2 separate regions of the Homo sapiens genome follow, and region 1 is linked to region 2. Evidence: promoter capture Hi-C in 16 types of primary human blood cells and fetal thymus (Javierre and others, 2016). All regions are on one chromosome and are shown on one strand. Each heading gives the region's core, a stretch centred on a gene start or on the middle of the fragment in contact. The rest is flanking DNA. Distances are from core to core; before and after follow the strand shown.

What was found. Contacts are between HindIII fragments. The CHiCAGO score rates a contact against its expected background, and 5 or more counts as called.
Region 1: a fragment that was not itself captured here is called in contact with the fragment with the promoter of ELL2 in region 2 in 1 of 17 cell types (endothelial precursors); the score reaches 5.4 in endothelial precursors.

The regions. Positions count from the first base shown.
Region 1 is chr5:96,230,936-96,236,379 of GRCh38, forward strand. The region is part of intron 1 of LOC101929710 (a long non-coding RNA gene); the gene reads left to right. It also overlaps a transcript of CAST not described here. Among named protein-coding and RNA genes, the nearest start is that of MIR583, 150 kb to the left of the region's middle. The HindIII fragment of the contact is 3,385 bases long and covers 1,012-4,396 here.
Region 2 is chr5:95,959,287-95,965,039 of GRCh38, forward strand. ELL2 (elongation factor for RNA polymerase II 2) reads right to left here and starts at 2,565. Exons shown (of 12, transcript NM_012081.6): 1 at 2,289-2,565. The coding sequence starts at 2,435. LOC101929710 (a long non-coding RNA gene) reads left to right here and starts at 2,715. Exons shown (of 5, transcript NR_130776.1): 1 at 2,715-2,750. It also overlaps a transcript of CAST not described here. RefSeq lists silencers at 1,979-2,388, 2,459-2,698, 2,654-3,121 and an enhancer at 2,417-3,174. The HindIII fragment of the contact is 3,633 bases long and covers 179-3,811 here.

The sequences.
Region 1 (5,444 bases), core at 1,454-3,953, 270 kb after region 2:
CGAGATACTACTTCACATTCGCTAGAATAGTTATAATCAAGACAGTGACAAGTGCTGAAAGGATGTAGAAAAATTGGAACCTCATACTTTCCCGGTGGGAAAAAGTATGGTACAGTCACCTTGGAAAACAGTTTGGCAGTTTCTCAAAATGGTAAACATAGATTTACCATATGATCTAGCAATTCTCCTTCTAGAATATACACCCAAGAGAATTGAAAACATGTCTAAACAACATCTTGTAAATGAGTGTTCATAGAAATATAATTCATGATATCCAAAGAGTAGGAACAACCGCAATGTTCATGAACTGATGAATAAATAGACAAAAATGTTTTATGTCCATAGAATAGAATGGTCTTTGGCCGCAAAAAGGAATGAAGTGCTGATATATGCTACAACATGGATGAACCTAAAAATATGTTGCATGAAGGAAGCCAGTCGTAAGATACCACATATTGTATGATTTCATGTATTCACAAAACAGAATAGAATAAGCAAATCTATAGAGGCAGAAAATAATGCGCTTAACCAGGGTTTGCAGGAGAAGGGGAGAAAAGAATAGAAAGTGATTTTTCATGGGGATGGGTTTCTTTATGAGATGATGAAAATGTTTTAAAATTAGATTTGAGTGATGGTTGCACAACTCTGTAAATATTCTAAATACCATTGGATTGTACACTTAAACACACTTAAACAGGTGAAGTTTATGGTATAAATTATATCTCAATAAAGCTGTTAGAATAATTATGATATAATATAAAAATAATTGTGTTGGGTAATACTTTATTGTTTATTATCTTCATTGTGGAACAACAATTATTACTAGAAATAAAAACATAAAAAGGCAAAAAAAAAGCACATTGAATTTTGGCAGTGGCCAAGTTATTTAGCTTCCATTACCACCAACATATACCATACTGTAGCTGGATATCAGAACTGAGGAGATTACCGGTAGGTTTTGGAAAATGAAAACTGGTTCATGATGCCAATCCCAATTGCAAGTGGATCCTAAGCTTTTTTTTCTGATCAGGGCTGGACTGGGGAGAAAGGGGTGCCAATAGGTCCATGGTGCTTTAAAGAAAATATGGTATGTGTTGGTGGTAAAAGAACTAAAATATTGGAGATTCAATATAAATAACAATAAACTTTTCATACATAATATATTTAGCTAGAAAAGTACTTAAAGTTTTATCCGGGGTCAATTTCCATCAGAATTTTGGGGAGAAGATACTTACAAAAAATTGAAATTGATCAATCCCACCCTAAATCTATGAACTGATATCTCTGGAGGATGAGAGTGTTGGAAGCTGGGAATCTGCATTTCTAAAAATGTTACTAGGTGACTCTGATGCAAATAGAGAAAACTGATACAAAATTGAAAGGCCAATTTTCACAACTTATACTGTGTGTGATACTGGAAGTCCTAGTTAACAAAATAACATAGAACAAATAAATAAAAACTACAAGGATTGAAAACAAATAACATTGTCCTTACCCACAAATATGGTTGTCTGCAAGAAAATCTATGGGGATCTGCAGAAAAGGACATTTGGAAAACCTAAGAAAATCTATGGAGAAAAGATTGTTTTAGAATTTATGGTGTTCAGCAAGGTTGCAGAATACAAAATTAACAATCAAAATTTAATACGAAAAACTCAGTAGAATTTGTGTATAACAGCATAACCTTGTATAAATGCAATTTTAAAAAGAACAAAAAATTGAGGGGGATAGTTGGGGCCAAGAAAGAAAGAGAAATTATAAGGTTCCTATTAAAAATCTCACAAAAACTTTTCCTTTCTTCATGCATGAAATTACAAAACTTTATTTAAAGACATAAAATAGATTATTTTCTAAGCCAATTGGAGAGCATACTATGTTCATGGATAGAGAGATTCATAAAAGTATTAATTTACTCCAAATTTGTCTAGAAATGAATGAAAATTTCTAGAGGAAGTTTGTAAAAATGCACAAAGTGTATAGCAATTCTACTTCAAAACACAGTACTATATTTTAGAGAAACACTTGCATATGTTAACACAGATACTTATTACAGCAGTGCTTGGAATAGTAAAAAAGGGGAAACAACCTAACAACCCACCAGTAAGGGAATTAACAAATTAACTGTGGGTTATTACTATTTGACAGTTAAAATGAAGCACTTCAACCAATCTGCATCTATTAGTATTAAAAATTCAAAAACCAAAATATTCAATGTAAAATGCAAATTGCTATATGTAGATACAATATCAAATATATAAAATGTAAAGACCCCAAAATACTATTTTAATTCATGGATACATATTTAGTAAAATTATGCAAACTTTCGTGGAATTGATTCCCTAAAACTTCAGAACACCTCTGAGGAAACAGGAGAGGAAAGATATAGGACTGGGATTCAAGTTTTAGCTGTATCTAGAACACTTTATTAAAAGAATAAGTAAATAGGAAGCAAAAATGGAGTAATATTAACATGTTAGGTCTATGTGGCAAGTAACTTGTGTTACATTACTCTTTGTATTTTAAAATACTTCAAAAAACAAAAATAAAAAAATTGATTCACAGAACAGAACATTCAATATGGATTAACTCTTTTAATTGAGTTGACATAAAGCCCTATATTGGTTTAGCTCCTCTCATCAATATTTTCCATAACTGAAATCTGGACAGATGGCAGATACAATATTTTCTCTCCTTGACAGATGGATGAACTGGAAGGTTTAATTACTTTCTCCTAGTTACTTAATAAGTAGCTCTAGAAACAAAATATTTTGGTCAGTAACTTGGGTGTTTGTCTACCACACAGCATGTTAGAACACAATAATTAGCCTGTATAGTTTCGACTGTAAGATAACATATTTACATATGTGTTCTATTACATATATAAAACAGAAACCTTATATCTTCGTGTATAATCAGACACTGTAGAACAAGAAGAAATAATCTTAAAATTTTAATAATCTTAATTTTTTTCTAATGACGTTGTAGATAAGATTTTTTGTTCTTACATAATTGCAAAAAAAAATTATTTTTTAAAGTGAGAGTTTTTGATATTAAGTAAAAGCCAAGAATAAATTAGATCCTTTGGTTAGAGCATTTGATTTCCCTGCTTCAGAAGTGGGCACACACAAACAAAGAAGTGGGTACATAGGACAAAGATCACTTGGCTTATATTCAGGAAATGTAAATTTTCCTCTCAAGTCTTCCACTGGCTAACTGTAGCCTGCATCAATTCTTTGAATTTTTCAGGGTCTGTCAAAGTTTATGGAAGAAAGGATGTATCAGGTTGAGAGAAAAGCATTAGTCTTAAAATGTATTGCTTGTTTGAAACATGGCAAACAGCCTGCTGGGGCTGGAAGGAAGTGTTCATGGAAGGCCGTAGTAGGGAATGCGGCTAGAGATGCTTTAGATTTTACTCTACAGCAATTGAACATTTTTGAGGAATGGCATTGTAATATCTGCCTTACAGTTTGCATGGGAATATTGTCATTTGGTAATTGCAGGCAGCGACATATACACAAACCATACTAAATCAGGTCAACCAAACAGGAATTTTTTTTCCTCCCAAAATAAGAAGTCAGGAGATGGACAGGCCACAGTTGGGGCAGCCTCTCAAGAAAGTCATGAAGGACCGAGTTTCCTTCTAGCTTTCCTGTTCCACCAGCCTTGGCTTGTGAATTTTGCCCTCATTCTCTCATGACAGCTGTTCCATTTCTATGCAGAAAGAAAAGGGAAATTCAAAAGTTAAATGTTCATCCAGACAAGTTTTCTCTTTTTCCAGTAAAATAATAACTTTAATGGATGTTCCATCCAGCAGACTTACGTTTATATCTCATTGGCCAGAAATGTATTACAACAAAGTCTGGGGAGGTGTGTGTGGGTTGTGTATGTGTGTATGTGTGTGTGTGTTTTACTGCTTTATTGAAGTATAATTTACATAAAATAAATTACATATGTAGAAAGTATGCATTTTGGTGAGTTTTGATATGTGTGTACACTTATGCAATGATTATCATAATGAAGATACCAAATATTTCAAGAAAGTATTCAAAAATGGGAACTTCGTTACCTGAATAAATCAAGTTTCTTTTAGCAAGAGGCAAATGGAAAAAATAGATTTTTGAAAGACAACTAGTAGTGTCTGCCACAATTTCTAGATTCATAAATTTTCCCAAAGGTGCCCCTCCAAGTGATTCTCCTGGTTCATCTTGGTGGACCCCAGGAGAGCTTTAGGAAGAGAACCAGAGCAGGAGTTTGCCTTGGGATCATTTCTAGTCTAAGTCTGCCTTGGCAGGCAGTGTAATATAGATGAAAGCATGGTTTTTGGTGTCAAATTGGGGTTAAAATCCCAGCTCTCACACTAACTCATTGTGTGGCTTTGAACAATTCAGTTCAACAAAGCTTTAATGAGTATCAGCTATATAACAACTACTTTCCATTCCCTGGGCATACAGCAGTAAAAAGGACAGACGTAGTCCATCCCTTCACAGAGCTTGCTATCTGGTAGTGGCTGAGCCTTTTCTATAAATAGGAGCTGTGGCGAGGATAAATTTAGTTCTTACAACATGTGAATGTTAGTTTAATGGTAATTATTTAGGAGCTGTCCTAGATTTGGCTTCATTCTACTAATACTTGAATTTGGGAGCTTGAATCTCCCCACTAGAAGTTGTGCTTGATTTTGGATTAATCCCAAGAGTTCTGGGCTTTTTTTGTAGCTAATTAAGGTCAACTATCTTTTCTCTCCCCACACCATGGCCCTAAACCTCACTGGGTTAAGAGCACATGACCTAGTTTCCTCCCTCTGGGGGAAGAAAATTCTAAAAATCTCCTTAGAATCTCAGAAATTCCCTGCCTCTGAAAATCCTTCTGTTTTGAAGTCACTCAGGAGCCGGAGCCTATTTTCCACACCCGCTTCCAGTTCACTCCTCTGCGAGTAACTTGGGTTCCCAGATCTGCCTGAGGATACTAGAATTCATCCTAGACCATGGATACCCCTATTCCAGATCACAAGGTCCCAGATTTCTGCCAGGGGAATGAGAAAATGCTGTAAAGATCAACAGTTCTTCTTGTAATTTCTTTTGCTTTTCGATAGCATTGAAAATGTATTGGAATGTTATAATTACTTCTTATTAAGTAACCAGGATCTCTATGTCTGTCTGTCTATCTGTCTGTCTGTCTGTCTATCTATCTATCTCTCTATCTATCTATCCATCCATCCATCTATCTACCTATCTATCTGTGGCTATTTTTGGAGTTGGCTCCTCTTGGGAAATATTTAACAGTTTTGTGGAAATCCCAAATACCATAATGGTAACTGCAATTCCTTTAAAACTCATAATTCAGTGATGCATCCAGGAAAAATGGCTGTCTTTGCCAAACTCCTGGATTCTCTGTCTTTGGCCTGGCTGTTTGTACCCTGACCTGGTCCCCCGTGAATCTGCCAGTTC
Region 2 (5,753 bases), core at 1,315-3,814:
CTCTTCCCACCCACTGTGTGTCAAGTCTTTCTCTGCTCCTCGGGTCTGCTCCTGAATAGGGGCTGGCCGCCTCCTGCTGACTTCTTTTTCTCTGGGCCTCTGGGTTTTCTCTTCACATCCCCAGACCTACCTTCTTCCCACTGCCATTCCTTCCCACGCCCTTCCCTTGGAACAGGCAAGCTTATCTTTCCATCTTGCAAGGCTGAGTTTCTCTCCAGAGTTTCTCTCCACTGTCTGCTTCTGTCCCTCTGCCTGTGTTTCTGGCTTCCCCCATATGGGCCTCCCACTCCGTCTGATGCTGGTCTCTTCACTGCAGGTGCACCTATCTAAGAGTAGCTATTGGCACATGCAGTTTTCTATTTCTTGTATCTCTCCCAGCCATTCTTGAGATTTTCTCTCGAGATTTCACTGTATGTAGGACGGTACCTTTCTCCCTGTGCATGCACTCCTCCCTGACGCCCCCTCACCCCACCACACAAAGTCTGTGAGTCCTTTTCACCATATGCTTCTCTGGTTAGTAACACAAGTGTCCTAGCACGTACATTCATGTGTCCACCCAATTCTGTGAGTACCTTCCTAACAATACACTCACCTCTGAGCCTCCACTGCTGTTTACAAATACCCTATCATGTGAGTTCATTTTCTATCCAAAGCGTGCACAACTAATGCCTTCCTCTGTGTGCACACTTATGGGGTGGGGGGGCTCTCTGAATACACTCCCAGTAAACCAGGGTTCACACCTCTCCTGCCGCTCTGCCTCAGACTCTGCCTTCGCTCTATGTATTTAAAGTGCCTGGCACTAGTGGGAGCTCAACAGATGTCAATTCTTTTCCCCACTTTTAGCTGAATAACTATGTGAATCTGTGTCTCGGTGTCCTTCTGCCCCTCTGTCTGTTGTACGAGACCGGTTGGAGTGTGTTCCTCAGTACCGAACGGGCTATTTGTAAGATGCCCCGTGGGTTCTATCTCCCTTCCGACTCTCTCCTCTCCTGTAAAACGTTACAGGTTCCCCCATATGGCATATCCCTCCCTCACGCGATGTATCCACTCCGGTCTCCCACAGTACTGCATGTCCATAAACTGTTTCCCCATGCACCCTGGTTACCGCGTCCCTTCTCGGTGCTTCCCTGTCTCTCCCATTTTTTTTCCAACATGAAAGCGTCTGGATTTGTAGTCCAATTACAGTGTATGTGCGCCTATCTGAGCCTCTCTCTGTACTGGAGGGGTGTGTGTGTATATGTGTGTGTGTGTGTCCATGGGCTTCTCTCGAAAACGAGGGGTGAGAGGCCCGAGTCTCTGCCCGGGATGCATTGTATCCTCCCCACACCTTCTGGCTCTGGCTCGTTCCCCGTTTACACTTCCCAGAGTCAGCCCAAGACGCCGGGAGCTTTTTCGGGTACGTTGAGCGTCCGTGAACCTCTCTCTCCAGAACCCGATGTCTTGCTCCCGGGGAGCGCTAAGTGTGCGTGAGTCCTCAGGTCTCTCCCCAGGGCACTGTGTTGGTTTGTGTCCGTCCTGGACGCGGCGCGTCTCCAGTAACGCGATGCGCCGGTGTCCCGGAGTCCCTGGGAATGCAGGTGTGTCCCCTCCCCCCCCGTACGCGAAGCGCCAGTGTCCCCGCCGTTCCAGTGTGCGCCGCCCCCTTACACGGACTGCCTAAGTCCCTATCTCTATGAGTACACCGTGTGCCCCTCACCATGCGCCCGAGTCCCCATCCCTTCGAGCACACAGTGTGTCCCCTGATACGTGGAGCGCCTGTGTCCCCAAGTCCCTGGGAATACAAGGTCCCACCCCCACACGCGGAGCGCCTGTGTCCTGTCTCTGAGGATCCACCGTGCCTATGTAACTGGAAAACGCGGGCAGCTGGTGCCCGCGAGTCGTCCCTGGTTCCTTGCCCATACGCTGCTCGCTACCCTCCTTCCCCGCCGAGGGTAGCGTGGTCATCTCACTTCTCTTATCGGGGCCTCTCTCCCTCCTTGGGACCCAACAAGCCAGGAAATCCTCGGGGGCCGTCGGAAAGTCCCGCAGCGGCAGCGCAGCCGACCCAGGGCTGCGGCTGCCTCGGCCCCGCCGCCAGGGGCCGCCCGACTGCCCGCTTCCCCAACGCCCAGGCTAGCCCGGGACCGCGGCGTCAGCCACCCTGCCCGGCCCTGCCCTGCCTGGCCGCTGCGGGCGCTGACGGTAGCAGCTGCCAGCCACGGCTCCGCCGGCCCCGCACCCGGGCGCGGCCAGGCCGTGAGGGGTGCGCTCTGCCTCTCTGAGCCCAGCCTGCCGGCCGGCCCGCTCACCTTGTGGCTCTGGTAAGTCTCGAGCGCCCGGATCGCCGTCTCGGTGAGCTTCACATGCAGTACGGTGATGTTGTCCTGCCCCAGCCGTCCGCACGACAGCCCATAGCGCTGCTCCTCCCGCAGGCCCCCTGTCCCCCCCGCCGCCATCTTAAACTCCCCGGGGTGCCGCCGCCGCCGCCGCTCCGGCTCTAGCCTCCACTGCGGCCGCGGCTGCTTGGGCTTCTGCAGCCGCCGCCACTGCTAGGGCCATCCCGCTGCTGACGTACTGTCATATACTGCGCGGAGCCAGACCTCGGACTGCCACCGCCGCCACCCGCCCCACCCTCCGGCCCCGCGCCCCGCCCCGGGCTCGTCTCATTGGTCTTGTTCCCTTCAGAACCGCCCTCATCGGCCGCCCTCCACTCTCACGGGGGCGGGCCCAAAGTCACTAGAGTTTTGCTCCTGGGACGGGACGTCCGAGAGGTAAGAGGCTGACGTCTAGGTGACGCGCCAACTTAATCATGTCTGACGTCACGTCTGGTCGTCTTGGCTAGCCGGCCGAGATTGGCCAGGCTGGCTTGGGGACTCCCCTGCTAATTGGAAGTCCAGGTTGCCTGGTCTGGTTACCTGGAGTTGGAGCCCCGCCCCTGTGGGGGATAGTAGTGAAAAGTCAGAATTGGGGAATCTCGCCCTACGCGGGTGGTCCTTGGAGAGGAGGATCTCCACCTCCACTATGTAAGGGGATGGCCGTGACCAAATAAGGACTTTGTTCCCCGACGGCTGCGGAAGCTGTGGAACTTGGTGCGTGCGTGTGGGGGAGGACGCAGCAGGAGGACTCGCTAGAGAGCTGCTCCTCAAAACTCCTAGTACTGTAGTTGAGCAAACGGCATTGGGAGGAAACTGCTCACTCTAAACTTGAAGTTATCGGGTGCCACACGCAGAGCTTATAAAAACAAAAACAAAAACAAAAACCCTTGAAATTAGTGAGTCGACTCTTAGATGTAGGAGTTGTGTTAGATCTTGTGGAGCATCTTAAGGACAAAATCACGCGGGAGGTTAAATGCCTTTCGTATGGTGGGCATGGTATAATAGAGAATTGAGCTTCGAGGTCTTTCCTACGCCATGCCCTGTTGTGATTCTCTGGGATCACAACTGGTGGGGATGATATCTCCTTAAAAAGGACTCTAGAAGAAGAGTAAAACTGGCATTGATCTAAATTAAAAGAAACCTCGACAATTCTCATTCTCTAATTCAGTTTGAGTATTGTCCTTTTTATTTGATAGGGCTGTGTGAAAACCTAGCTAGGGTTTAAAGGTAAGAGGCTGTCGAGGTTAAGCGAAGGAGATGGGGGCGTGAGGGGCGTGCAAAGGCCTGGCATACTTTCCATTCCATCCACAGGATGCTTCCTGTGTAGGCGTGGCTAAAAGAGGGAGCCTAATCTGGAGTCCCTTTCAGATTGTGTGTGGATAGACTGACAGATGGGTTCCTGTCAGAGGATGGATTAATTGGTTGATCAGAAACACCAGATAAAACAAACCATTGAAAGCTTTCAAACTGTTGAAAGGCAGTTTAAAAAAGTTCTTTTAATAAAAAAACTGAGACGCTTGTTTTTACCCTCAGCTTATAAAACCATGTTCTGTTCTACTGGGATTCCCCGGGAAAGTTTATAGATATTTAATCAGTATTTTTCATTATTTTAAATGGATTAGGGCCATGATTCCATGTCCTCCCCTCCCAATAAATGCCTTCCCCACCGTACGGGTACACTCCTTTTTGATTCAGACCTTCAAACATAGTAGGTGTATAATGTGAATTACAGAATGAATTGGATTAAGTGGAAACACCTGTATTAAGTGTTACTCCATCACAGGAAAACAGTTTGTAAATTGACTTAATTTCAATCCACTAAGATTGGCTAGCTGTTAAGACGTGATTAACGCTTGCTAATTTCATTTACTTTAGTGATACAGTGTTATCTTAAATTCATGTAGTAGAGATATTAAGGTAATCATCAAATTGGATTAAAAAGTTTACTCTTAGAAGGGAAATAGAGGCTTTACTACCTAGTTTTCTCCGCTTTCCAAAAGTAGAAACCTTATTCAAATAGTTCATCTCTAAGCGGACTATAATCTAAAAATAATTCTGTACTTGAACTTTTCTTTTCTCTCTCTCTTTTTTTTTTTTTTTTTTTGATAGTAAAGGACTGAGCACATAGCTAAAGCCTTAATTATTTGGGAGGTGAGGGGGAAGGGAGGTTTGACCGGAACAAGTAAAACCTGTATCCCACTGCTTTTCCGGTGAATGTGGGTAAATCCCCACCCACATGATATCCTAACTTGGCCTACTCTTACTCAGAATTTCTGATGACATCCAAGCGGGTGGGGGAGGAGTAAGGATGGTTTTCGTTGTAGTTTTCAAATATCTGACCTGTAGCTTCTTACTAGTAATTGACTTTTTTTAAAAATTATAATAGGAAAATTTTTCTCATGCCCTATTTTAGTGGGTAACAAATCTTTCACGGATTAATATATTATTGTAGTGAGTTAATGGTTGTTTGTATTTTTCCCCTTTTGAGCTTTTCAACTGTGGAAGGAGGAAATGATCAAGTACAAAGTAATATGGTAATCTAGCAGTGTCTTTTCATTGATGTCTCACAGGCATAGTACACATTACGCCTGCCTGAATCAGATGGTCAAGTTATGATGCTGGTTAGGATAATTTATTTTGAGGAGGCTGATGAAAGGTGCTTTTTGGGAAGGTTGCCATTTTATACATATTTTCTGTATCTTTATCTGGTTTAAATAATTAAATAATCATTGAATACCAGTTAAGTATAACATGCGGTAGAGGATTTAAAAATTAAACTGTAAAGTCTCTAGAGGAATTTTCTGTTTCAGTGTGGCAAGTGAACCAGTATAGTCAAAGCAAAGCAATTAGAAAATTAGTAAATGCTAATTTGGACGGTGTTGGTGATAAGCTCAAAAATTCAAAGAAAGGAGAAGTCTGAAGAGGTTTAATGGAGGTGATAGAACTTGAACAGCTCTTGAGGGTTGAGTAGATTCTAGATAAGTTGGAGGTGGTATAGATGGAGACAGCCCAACTAAAAATGATCTTCATGATGATTCCAGGTGGACACATTAGTTTTATGAAGGAGGAACTGAGACCCCCATTTATTTAAAAGCAACCTGCCTAACATAACCAGGAGAGGCAGGGTCGGAATCAGCTCTTTAAATGTCCTTCCAGTCCTTATATACACTGAGTAGCTATGGATTAGATTTAATAACTGAGAAGAAATCTGTCATATAAGACAGTTCAGTGCAGGAAAAAGGCTAAAAGGAATTTGATGCAGGGCCTGCTCCATCTCTCATGTCTAGTATACAGTGCTGGCAAAGGATATGTGACTATCAAGGCCTTCTCTGGCATTCAAATGCTGGGCCACCCCTCATTCCAGGTTGCTGCATATTTAATGACTGTTTCTCACATCTT